4 separate regions of the Homo sapiens genome follow, and all the other regions are linked to region 4. The links are contacts of gene promoters, found by promoter capture Hi-C in blood cells and fetal thymus (Javierre and others, 2016). All regions are on one chromosome and are shown on one strand. The core of a region is centred on a gene start or on the middle of the fragment in contact, and the rest is flanking DNA. Distances in the headings are between cores, read along the strand shown.

Region 1 (2,790 bases), core at 9-2,508, 900 kb before region 4:
CTAATAAAAGACGATCTGCGTGAACGCCACCAAGGCCCTTGCCACCAAGTTCTTTGGGGCTGGGAAGGGAGGAGGTGGGGGGCTTGGGCCATGGGAAACAGAGGGGACAGGATCCCCAGCTGCTCGCTGGGCAGTCAGGGAGGAGGAAAGCAGGGAACTTTTGCTCATCAACAGGAGAGGAGGTGGGTGTGGGTGCTCAGGTTGAGTCCAGAGCCCTTGTCCGGCTCTTTAGGCCCCTTTCTGGAAGTTTCTGTGGGGCATGGAGATCAGAGGGGAGAGGTCACAGCCTGCCCCGCTAGAACTGGGGTCTTCAGCCGCTCCCAAGGAAGGTGGTGGTGGGTGGGGTTGGAGAAAGGGGGCAGGCCTTACATGTGGGTGCAGAACTGGAAAAGGAGAAAGAAGAACGCCACCACCAGCAAGCCCACCAGGATGTGATGGAAGAGCCCGGGGCTGGAACCTGCTAGACAAACAGGACCCTTAACTCCCCTCTGATGGCCCAATGAAGGGTCTGGGGCTGCTCTCCTCCAGACCCTGGCGGGGAGGGAGGTCCCTTCTCAAGCTGGTTCATACCTGAGTTAATGAACACGATGGGTTTCTCTCCAATAAACTGGGCCACAGCCAGCAGCCTGGCTTGGTCTGAGTCCGGATAATCGAAGAAGTCAGGTCTGTCTAAGAAGCGCGGAGACTCTGTCCCCAGGGCTGACGCCGTGGCACGCTTGGGTCTGGGTGCTAGGACCCAAGCAAACTCTGTGACAACAGCCAAGCTGACCCCTGCCTTTATCTCTCGAGGCGGAAGCTGACTTGGGACCCTGTGAGACCACCCAGCCTTATTGCAGAGGCTGTGGAGGGTCTTGATTTCCCTCAGGGTCAGCTGGGTGCACCACGACAAGGCTCGCGGTTGTTGGGGGGTAGGTGGGACCAGCAGGATGGGAGAGAAGAGTGGAGAGAAAATGAGAGGGTGCAGGGTTGGCTTCCGAGTCCCTAAGTGGGCATCACACTTTATGCTCCCAGAGCTGCCTGCCTTCCTGCTGCTCCCAAGACAGCTTCTTACCAGTTTCTATGGCCCCTAGTGCAGCCAGCCACACCCACACCAGCACCCATGGCCACAGCCTCATGACTCCTATCATGAGGTGGGGGCTCTGTGATGTCACAGCCCAGAGCTGTTCTGATGGCACTTTGGGGTGAGGGGAGAAAGTGCTAGGAGCTGGGACCCCTCCCCCATCCCTCACTCTCATCAGAAGAGGAGAGGAGAAGAGAGGTTGGGACCAGTCTTCACCCCCTGGAATGTCGCTGATGATAAAACCATAATGGTGGCAGCCCCAGCATTTACAAAGAGGAGGGATGCGGCACGGCCATCTTGCTGAAAGCCCGAACTAAAGGAAGCTGTGTTTGGACAACAGGCACAATTTGGGGTGGTGGCACAGGGCCACACACCTCCGGTTACCCCTTGGATCAACCACAGGTAACATTTGTTTTATTTATTTTCATTTTTTTGGAGACAGGGTCTCTGTCTGTCACCCAGGTGGGAATGCAGTGGCGCCATCTTGGCTCTCTACAGCCTCTGCCTCCTGGGTTCAAGTGATTCTCTTGCCTCAGCCTCCTGAGTATCTGGGATTACAGCTTTGGATAAATCCCTTCCTTTTATCTGTCTGCCACCACACCCGGCTAATTTTTGTATTTTTAGTAGAGACAGGGTTTCACTATGTTGGTCAGGCTGGTCTTGAACTCCTCACCTCAGGTGATCTGTTCGCCTCGGCCTCCCAAAGCGCCCGGCCTATTTTATGTATTTTCAGAGACAGGGTCTCACTCTGTCACCCAGGCTGGAGTACAGTGGTATGATTACTGCAGCCTTGAACTCCTGGCCTCAAGTGATCCTCCCACATCAGCCTCCTGAGTAGCTGGGACCACAGGCATGTGCCACCATGCCCGGCTAATTTTTGCATTTTTTGTAGAAATGAGGGCTTGCTATGTTGCCCAGGCTGGTTTCGAACTTCTGGCCTCAGGTGATCCTCCAGCTTCGGCCTCCCAAAGTGCTGGGATTACAGGCATGAGCCACCATGCCCAGCAGGTAGCATTTATTGAACACCTATTACTATGCTGGCTGGACCCCATTTATGGCCAAGTACCTTGCACAAATTTGTTCATTTGCTCTTGCACTGACCCTCAGAGGCAGGTACTCTTTTTTTTTTTTTTTTTTTTTTTTTTTTTTGAGATGGAGTTTCACTCTGTCCGCCAGGCTGGAGTGCAGACGCACAATCTCAGCTCACTGCAACCTCCACCTCCTGGGTTCAAGCGATTCTCCTGCCTCAGCCTCCTGGAGTGGGATTACAGGCGCGCACCATCACTGTTCGGCTGATTTTTGTACTTTTAGTAGAGATGGGGTTTCACCATGTTGGCCAGGCTGGTCTTGAACTCCTGAACTCGGATGATCCGCCTGCCTCGGCCTCCCAAAGTGTTGGGATTACAGGCGTGAGCCACCAAGCCCAGCCCAGAGGCAGGTACTCTTGCCTCCCTTATACACGGGAGGAAATCACGGCACAGAGGGGAAAAGTAGTGTGGGCAATGCACACTTCCTGGGGGGGGGGTTCCTCTCTGAGGCTCCCCCTTGCATCCTATCCGCAGATCCAGGGGCACAGGGCTCTCTCCGTCCTCCCCCGCCCCCTCCTTAGTGCTCAGCCGGGAACGACCCTGGGGTTAGGAACCGAGAGGAGTAGCAGGCGTCTCCCACTAGGTGGCAGCAGCGGCCGCGCCTGAGTCCACGCTCCCACCCTAGGAAAGGCGCAGCGGGGC
Region 2 (2,700 bases), core at 64-2,563, 620 kb before region 4:
TTTCTATCTATTCTTCCACCACCCTGGCCACTACATGCTCACCCACACATACATTGGTCATGCGACTTTGGTCATGAAATCTCTTTTCTTTAAGCCTTACTTTTGTCATCTGTGGATGAGTCAAACTAGAGAATCTCAGAAAGTCACCTGGACTCCAGAGCCTGATGACATCTTGTCACACTCTGCTCCAGGCTCCTCCCACCCTCAGCAGCAGGAAAGAGGGACAGACATGAGGATGGTCAGGGTTTTGGAAACAGGCCCACGCCTGTTTTTATACCCTGGACTCCTCTCAGAGGCTTGACATTTTTGTTACCCAAGCCTCACCTCACTGATATTTTCCAACCAAAATGGGGGCTAAATGGTCTGAAGAGAGAGAGACTTATGTTAATTAAAAGTATGAGGCAGGGGCCAGTGTGGTAGCTCACACCTGTAATCCCAGCACTTTGGGAGGCTGAGGCAGGAGGATCTCTTGAGGCCAGGAGCTTGAGACCAGCCTGGGCAACATAGCAAGAGCCCATCTCTACCAGAAAAAAAAAAAAAAGGTGTGAAGCAAGCTGGCCAAGCAGGGGGTGCCTGTGGGGGCTGCATGGCAGGAGCAGATCTGGGGAGGCACCGTGGATAAGACAAGGCAGGATGGGGTGGGGCATCCTCCCAGGAGGAACGGGGGAGGCACCATGGTTCTCTGGGAATGTACGGGCTAAAGTCCCAGTGTCCTATTTCTTTTTCTTTTCTTTTCTTTTCTTTTTTTTTAAGACGGAGTCTCACTCTGTTGCCCAGGCTGGAGTGTGGTGGCACGATCTCAGCTCACTGCAACCTCCGAGTCCCGGGTTCAAGCGATTCTCCCTGCCTCAGCCGCCTGAGCAGCTGAGATTACAAGTGCCCGTCACCATGCCCAGCTAATTTTTGTATTTTTCAGTAGAGATGGGGTTTCGCCATGTTGGCAGGCTGGTCTCGAACTCCTGACCTCAGGTGACTTGCCCACCTTGACCTCCCAAAATGCTGGGATTACAGGGGTGAGCCACTGTGCCTGGCCCCGGCGTCCTCTTTCTCAGCTTTTCGGTGAATGTTCTGGGGCTCAGGGCCTGGCTATGGGGTGACACTAAGTTCAACAGAACCATTGCCCATTCCAGCCCCACCTTACCCCAGGAAAAGCCTCCTCACCGCAGTGACCACATCCCCTTGGGTTGCTTTGGAAACAAACACTCCCCAGGGGCAGACGAGTTGGGGCACAGTTGCCCAGCAACAGGCGGTGCCCTCCCTTCCGCCTTCATCCGAGGCCGGGCCTCTACGTCTGAGAGGCGGACCGCCCTGCACCCTCCAAGCCTGCACCTCTTAGTCCAGCACCAGGAAGAGTGGCTCTAGGAGGGAGAGGAGCCCAGGGACTGACCCAAGGTGAGTTGAGGGGTGCAGGAGGCCCCCTGCAGATGGAGGATGTGGGGGACAGAGAGGTGTGCAGAGACAAACGAGAGATAGAGACAGGCCAGAGCCTGGGCAAAGCTGGGGAGCCCAGGAGGGGTGCAGAGGCGCCTCCGGAGGCCTGGCCCGGCCCGGCCCGGCAGCAGATTCCGTGGAGCCTATGAGAGCAAGATCAAGTCCGAGGAGAATGGTGAGGGGCGAAGGAGCCTCAAGGGGCCAGCGGAGGTGCTGGCGGCAGGCGGTGGGGGAGACACACGCAGGGGAGCCAGTGGGAGGGGAGGTTCTCATTTCTTCACCCACCACTTCCTCTCTAGGTCTGAGCAAGACTTGAGGGGGCCGAGTGGGGAGGAAAGAAGCCCTTGAGACCTTTCTTGTCTGAGGCACCCTGGGGTCTGGGAGGGAAATGGGGATTCTGGAAAGGCCTGGAGAGCCAGGCAGGAGGGCCTGGCTGTGCCCCGAGGTAGGCTGCCTGTCCTCCCACCCCACCTGGCTCACGCTTACCCTTTCTGGTCCCTCTTGCTTCTCTGTCTCTCCAGAATGTTCTTTTTCATTTTTGAGAAAGGGTCTTGCTCTATTGCCCAGGCTGGAGGACAGTGGTGCAATCTGGGGTCACTGCAGCTTCAAACTCCTGGGCTCAAGTAATCCTCCCACCTCAGCTTCCTGTGTAGCTGGGACTACAGGTGTGAGCCACCACACCCAGCTAGTTTTTAAATTATTTTTAGAGATGAGGTTTCACTGTGTGTCCAGGCTGGTCTTGAACTCCTGGGCTCAAGTGATCCTCCCGCCTCGACCTCTCAAAGTGCTGGGATTCCAGGCATGAGCCCCCATGCCCAGCCCTTCTCCCAGGCTTTCCTGGACACCTGCTGCCTCTCTCTCATCTTGGTTGTGCCCCCTCTGCCTCATTTACTTCCTCTTCTCACCCCTGTGTCTCTCAGATGCCGTTGACTCCAGAGCCGCCCTCTGGGCGCGTGGAGGGGCCCCCCGCATGGGAAGCAGCCCCATGGCCCTCACTGCCCTGTGGGCCCTGCATCCCCATCATGCTGGTCCTGGCCACCCTGGCTGCGCTCTTCATCCTCACCACCGCTGTGTTGGCTGAACGCCTGTTCCGCCGTGCTCTCCGCCCAGACCCCAGCCACCGTGCACCCACCCTGGTGTGGCGCCCAGGAGGAGAGCTGTGGATTGAGCCCATGGGCACCGCCCGAGAGCGCTCTGAGGACTGGTATGGCTCTGCGGTCCCCCTGCTGACAGATCGGGCCCCTGAGCCTCCCACCCAGGTGGGCACTT
Region 3 (2,873 bases), core at 74-2,573, 540 kb before region 4:
GCCGCCGGCGCCACAGCAGGAGCAGAGCCACGAGGACTATGACCGCCAGCAGGGCCACAAGCACAGCCACTGGCAGCATGCCTCGTGAGTTCTCATCTGGGTTCCGGAAGGGCACAGTGCTTGCGTTGGTGGAGGTCGTTGGAGACATCATTGTAGATAGTTTTACGCTAGAGACCTGGGGTCCACTGGCCCCGCTGGAGGGCTCCAGAGAGCCAGTTGTCATGGTAACAGGGGGTCCAGTGGTCCCAGTGGAGGTCTCCAGAGAGTCAGTTGCCATGGTAACAGGGGGTCCAGAGGTGCCTTTGGAAGTCTCCAGAGAGACAGTTGCCATGGTAAGAGGGGGTCCAGAGGTGCCTCTGGAGGTCTCCAGAGAGCTAGCTGCCGTGGTAACAGGGGCTCCACTGGTCCTACTGGAGGTTTCTGGAGAGTTCGTTGTTATGGTTCCACCTGTCACGGTGTGGGATCCTAGAGAGTTTGCTGTTATGGGAACAGCAGGATGACTGGTTGCATGAGGGGTTTCCTGGGGCACTGATGACATCTTGATGGAAACTTCCTGGTAGGTTGTTGGCTCAGGTAAAGGGGAACCAGTGCTGGCACCAATGGAAGTCCAAAGAGGGGATCCCTCATTGATGGAAGTTGAGGGAGGTAGGGCTGAGGTCTGGTCCCCAGTGCTGTCGGCCTTAGGGTCACTTGTTATTGAAGTGGTGTACATCTTTGAGCTCAGGGGCTCGCTAGTAGAGACCAAAGGCTCTCCGGAGGTGGGTGTCTGCACTGCTGTTGTGCTCCCCAGAGCGTCTGGGCTTACCACCAGCACCCCAAGGAGAAGGAGAAGCGTGGCCATTTCCAGGCAAACAGGCAGGAGCAAGAGCTGGGACCTGCAGGTGGGCAGCCGGAGAAGCAGAACACGCGGGAGTTGCCGGAGGACCTGGCCGGGCCTCCCCTCTGCCCACTTCCCTGCCAACGGCCAGGCCCAACCTGCGGTTTAACGGTTTTTTCCATGCTGGCTTTTACTGTTATCAGAAATGACAGAGGAACAGATGCTGGCAGCTCCCCCATCAGCCCCATCCTGAGGCTCCCTCCAGCCTCAGCAGCTTAGATTCCAGCAGTGACCAGCCCCTCCTGGCCTTCCCTGACCCTGTGCAGCCCAATGGCTCCCAATCTCTTCCCATCATAACCTGTCAGAGTCTTTTCAAGCCACAGGCACATTCCCAGGCCCACTGAGGCCCCTACCCCACCAAGTCTCACCCTCTTACCGGCTCGGCTGATAAGGACGCAGCACTGGGGCCAGGTCACTCCACCACCTCCCGAGGCTGGGGCAAGACTGGGAAGGACAGGGCCCCAAGGGGAAAGGAAGTGGGCCCTGGCTCCACCCACCCCACCCACCCCTCCATCCTGCCCCACCCGCCTGCTCCCACAGCTGCTGGGCGAAGACAGCACCATCACCTGCTCCTTCAGGGGCCAGCGGGGTGCCTGGGGGTCTGGGGCTCACCTGAGGGAGGCAGGGAAGCGTGGGATCTGGAATCAGGATTCCTGGCTCTTGGCTGAGGAATGGGATGGAAGTGGTGATGCTAGGGAGGGCTGGGCTCAGAGGTGGGTGGTGGGAATGTGAGCCTGAGAACTCAAGGGTGCAGAGGAGGAGGTGGGAGGGGAGGGTGGTTTCCTTTGCATTTGTGGTCCCCAAGCTGTTAGGCCAGGAGCTGAGTGGCGCCATTTCCTGCCCTCAGAGCTCCCAGGAAGTAGCAGGGCAAGAGGAAGCCCCCGAGTCTGGCTGGGGGCCGTGAAAACCTTTGCAGGCTGGTGAGCTCTTGACTCTGTCCGGGGAGCTGGGGGTCACCACAGTGGCCCCCAGTCACAGAGACGTGGCTAAACCAAGGTGGTTCCTACACACTGCATATGCTAGGATCTTATTTCTGCAAACTAGTAAAGATGTGGGAATCTTTTTTTTTTTTTTTAAGGCGGAGTTTAGTGCAATGGCATGATCTTGGCTCGGCTCAGCACAATGTCTGCCTCCTAGGTTCAAGCAATTCTCCTGCCTCGGCCTCCTGAGTAGCTGGGATTACAGGCTTGCACCACTGTGCCCGGCTAATTTTGTATTTTTCGTAGAGACGAGGTTTCTCCATGTTGGTCAGGCTGGTCTCGAACTCCTGACCTCAGGTGGTCCATCCGCCTCAGCCTCCCCAAGCGCTAGGATTACAGGTGTGAGCCACCGCGCCTGGCCAGATATGGGAATCTATATGGAAAACCGTCTGGAAAGATATCTACTAAGGGATTCACCTAATTGTCTTTGGATAGGTGAGAGTAGGAGGTGGGGGTATTTTCTTCTTTGAATGGTTCCCATTTCCTGACTTTCCTCTAATTAGCAAGCTTTGACTCTCGGTTTGTGTATGTTTTTGGTTTTTGTTCTTGAAAAACGAAAATCAGTCCCGGGTGTGGTGATACATTATGCTGGCAGTCCAGGCCAAAGTGGGAGGACCTCCTGAGCCCAAGAGTTTGAAACCAGCCTGGGCAACGTAGCAAAACTCCTATCACTAAAAAAATAAATAATTTTTTAAAATCAAAACTGATTTGTATATTTTAAGAGCAACATGTGCACAATAGAAGATTCTAACAGGCCCGTGGGACTGTGCCATTTCTACAAGCTGATGAGTTTGTCTGACCCAAAGACATGAGACTCCTGGGTGAGAGCCACAGGAATTAATTGCTCACACCAAGCAACAGCAGCGTGATGTTTGCATCAGTTCCCCTTACCCCAAGTCCCACGGGGGCAACATGGAAGGGCCCAGACTGACACCATGCACACAGTGGGCCTGCACCGCAGCCATAGAGCTCTGAGCTTGAGAGATTCCCCTCCTCTAGGGGCCCTGGTAAGCCCA
Region 4 (2,783 bases), core at 284-2,783:
AATCCTGCCCACCTGCCTGGCGTGGCTGGGAGACCCGCCCGGGTGCTCTCTGTCTCTCCCTCCCTCTTTCACTGCTCCCTGAAGGCAGCGTCTAAAGAGGCTGAGGCTGTCCTGTCACTGCCCCGACCTCTGAGGAGAAGCCCGCGGCTGTCCTGTCACTGCCCCGACCTCTGCGGAGAAGCCCGCAGTTCTGATCACGGACCTCAGATGGGGAAGCGCACAGGAGGCCTCGGGTGGCCGGGCTGTGCTGCTTCTCCCTAGACGGGCAGAGCTGGCGCATAGGAGGTGCTTCACAGGTGACTAAGGAGGCAAAGACCCGAAGCCTGGGGGACTGCAGTGTCCGGTGGATCCCAGCTGCGGCCATCGGGCCCATGGGTGGGAGAGCCAAGGGAGGGGCTCAGCTGGGCAATAGGATGGGAGTGGGCGGGGGACACTGCTGGGAACTCCCTTCACTGCATGGCCAAGACTGTGCATAAGCGAACAGGGCGGGAGAGCTGTGTGTCGCCTCGGGCAGTCACTCAGCCTCTCCGCCCGTTTTCCTGGTCTGTAAAATGGGCCGAAATGCCCTCCCTGCGCTGTTCTTTGGGCAGTTTCTATAAATGCTTGGCCCAGCCTCCCCGGCACACGGTTGCTACCTGGATCACTGTTCTGTTATTTTCATCCCTGCCCCTGCTCTTTGCTTAGACCGACTTCCCCTGACTCCGGTGAAATCAGCCTCCACAGGCATTTCATCAGCCCTTGTTCGTCCACAACACGGCTAGGCAGGTGTGCTCAGGGGGTCTGAGGCTTTCACAGACGTTAAATGTATGTCCCTGCAGGAAACAGGTTTCTGTACAGCCCCAGAGACTGTACAGAAGGCTGAGGCCATCTCTACTAAAAATACAAAAAAATTAGCCGGGTGTGGTGGCAGTTTTTCTTTGTGACAAGATATAGGTAAGATTTCTGAAAGACAGGAGCTAGTAACATGTTCTATTTCTTCTGATAGCAGTTTTTTCCTAGTAATTTGTCAATTGCATTTAACGTTTCCCACTGACTTTTGAGACAGCCTCAAGTTTTTATGTCTGAAGGGTTCGTAGATTCTGACATTGTAATTTGTCCCTGCTCTCTTTTCTCTGACTAGTGTACCAGGGCTTTCTCAAGTGTACTAATCTTCTCAAAGAATCCAATTTGGTTTTGTTGGTTGTATCTACTCTACGTTTTGTGCCTCATTTCCTTAATTTTTCCTTGTCTTTAAGCTTTTCTCTAATACAACTGTCGATGTATTCCCCGAGTTTTGATCAATTTGCATGTGTCATTCAGTTACAAATACCTTCACATGTCCAGTTTTCTTTCTTATCTGACCTAGGGGTTATTTAAATGTTTGTTATTTAACTCCCAATCATTCAGGGATTTTTCTACTTTTCTTCTCATTAATTTTTGCCTTAATTCCATTTGGTCACAAAACACATTCTGCAAGCCCCCATCCTGTGGCATTGAGGTGGCTTCACAGTCTAGTGGGTGGCAATTTGGAGAAAAGCGTGTTCCCTGAGGTTGCTGGGCGTGACATTCCTCACACGTGACTTGGGTCACCTCAGTCTCCCGAGTTGCTGGGATTACAGGCCTAAGCCACTGTACCACGCTAAAGATTAAAAAGTTATAAAAACATGATCTAACAAAAAATACCCAGGGGTAAAAATAAATTGGCATTAAAATTTTCTTCCTAATAATCTAATGAAATAAGCAAAACTGAAAATAAAACCAACTCTCCAAATAACCACTGCACCAGAGAAACAGGACTAACCTAATGTAACAAACTTTAAAACCTCGTTGCTAAAGAAAGAAAGAAGCTTCTAGCTTCTGGCAATTGGCTTTGAGAGGCTCCAGATCTAACTCCTTACGCTGCTCTCCCCAAGGAGCCACGCTTGTGCTCCGACAGAGATCTGTGACTTCCACCCAACAGTCCCAAATCAGAGGGCGAGCAGGTCAAAGACGGGTGTGTTTTCTTCCTCTTTCCTAGAAGCTACAGAAATGACTACCAGTGAGAGAGGGAAGCAGTGTCAGGACTGACTCCACAGAAGTCAGCACTCTGCAACAGCACAGGATGCAGGGCTCCTAGGCAACATGTTTGGGTGAAAAGCCGCCCAGGGCCCTTCGCATGCTCAGAGGACGCAGCGCACCGCCGTGCACCGCATCCTGGTCTCTTAACACCAGGGCCCTCCAAACACCGCATCCTGGTCTCTAACACCACATCCTGGTCTCTAATGCCAGGGCCCTCCAAACACCGCATCCTGGTCTCTAACGCCAGGGCCCTCCAAACACCGCATCCTGGTCTCTAACGTCATTTTTCAATTCACGGAGAAACGGCTGATTCTAGGCTGGGACAAGTACTCACAATGAGCCCGGAGAAGCATTTGGTAGTGCTGTGCAAGTAAAAAGTGCTCAGGCTGGGCATGGTGGTTCACATCTGTAATCCCAGCACTTTGGGAGGCCAAGGCAGGCGGATCACCTGAGGTCAGGAGTTCGAGACCAGCCTGGTCAACATGGTGAAACCCCGTCTCTAATATAAATACAAAAAATTAGCCGGGTGTGGTGGCACGGCCTGTAATCCCAGCTACTTGGGAGGTTGAGGCAGAAGAATTGCTTGAACCCAGGAGGTGGAGGTTACAGTAAGAGATCGCCCCATTGCACTCCAGCCTGGGCAACAAGAGCAAAACTCTGTCTCAAAAGAAAACAAGAAAAAAAAAAAAACACTAATGATGAAACACCTACAATGAAGAGGGAATGGAGGAAATGTCAAGGGGCAC

Evidence for each region. Contacts are between HindIII fragments. The CHiCAGO score rates a contact against its expected background, and 5 or more counts as called.
Region 1: the fragment with the promoter of C16orf92 here is called in contact with a fragment that was not itself captured in region 4 in 2 of 17 cell types (naive CD4 T cells and erythroblasts); the score reaches 5.3 in naive CD4 T cells.
Region 2: a contact is called between the fragment with the promoter of C16orf54 here and a fragment that was not itself captured in region 4, in 2 of 17 cell types (endothelial precursors and fetal thymus). The highest score is 7.2, in endothelial precursors.
Region 3: a contact is called between the fragment with the promoter of SPN here and a fragment that was not itself captured in region 4, in 1 of 17 cell types (fetal thymus). The highest score is 5.0, in fetal thymus.

What each region holds. Positions count from the first base shown.
Region 1 is chr16:30,021,666-30,024,455 of GRCh38, reverse strand. It overlaps C16orf92 (chromosome 16 open reading frame 92), which reads right to left and starts at 1,258. Exons shown (of 4, transcript NM_001109659.2): 1 at 1,052-1,258; 2 at 571-729; 3 at 370-457; 4 at 1-250. The coding sequence starts at 1,115. The coding sequence ends at 229. It overlaps TLCD3B (TLC domain containing 3B), which reads left to right. Exons shown (of 5, transcript NM_031478.6): 5 at 1-29. It also overlaps a transcript of DOC2A not described here. The HindIII fragment of the contact is 16,537 bases long and covers 1-2,790 here.
Region 2 is chr16:29,744,603-29,747,302 of GRCh38, reverse strand. It overlaps C16orf54 (chromosome 16 open reading frame 54), which reads left to right and starts at 1,313. Exons shown (of 2, transcript NM_175900.4): 1 at 1,313-1,392; 2 at 2,352-2,700. The coding sequence starts at 2,352. LOC124903673 (a long non-coding RNA gene) reads right to left here and starts at 2,056. Exons shown (of 2, transcript XR_007065046.1): 1 at 1,918-2,056. RefSeq lists enhancers at 377-446, 974-1,023. The HindIII fragment of the contact is 10,190 bases long and covers 1-2,700 here.
Region 3 is chr16:29,661,697-29,664,569 of GRCh38, reverse strand. SPN (sialophorin) reads right to left here and starts at 1,323. Exons shown (of 2, transcript NM_003123.6): 1 at 1,254-1,323; 2 at 1-875. The coding sequence starts at 841. RefSeq lists silencers at 219-338, 1,599-1,658 and enhancers at 1,839-1,918, 2,559-2,608. The HindIII fragment of the contact is 6,496 bases long and covers 1-2,366 here.
Region 4 is chr16:29,125,557-29,128,339 of GRCh38, reverse strand. LOC124903671 reads left to right here. Exons shown (of 3, transcript XM_047435010.1): 3 at 1-1,270. Among named protein-coding and RNA genes, the nearest start is that of LAT, 140 kb to the right of the region's middle. The HindIII fragment of the contact is 591 bases long and covers 1,238-1,828 here.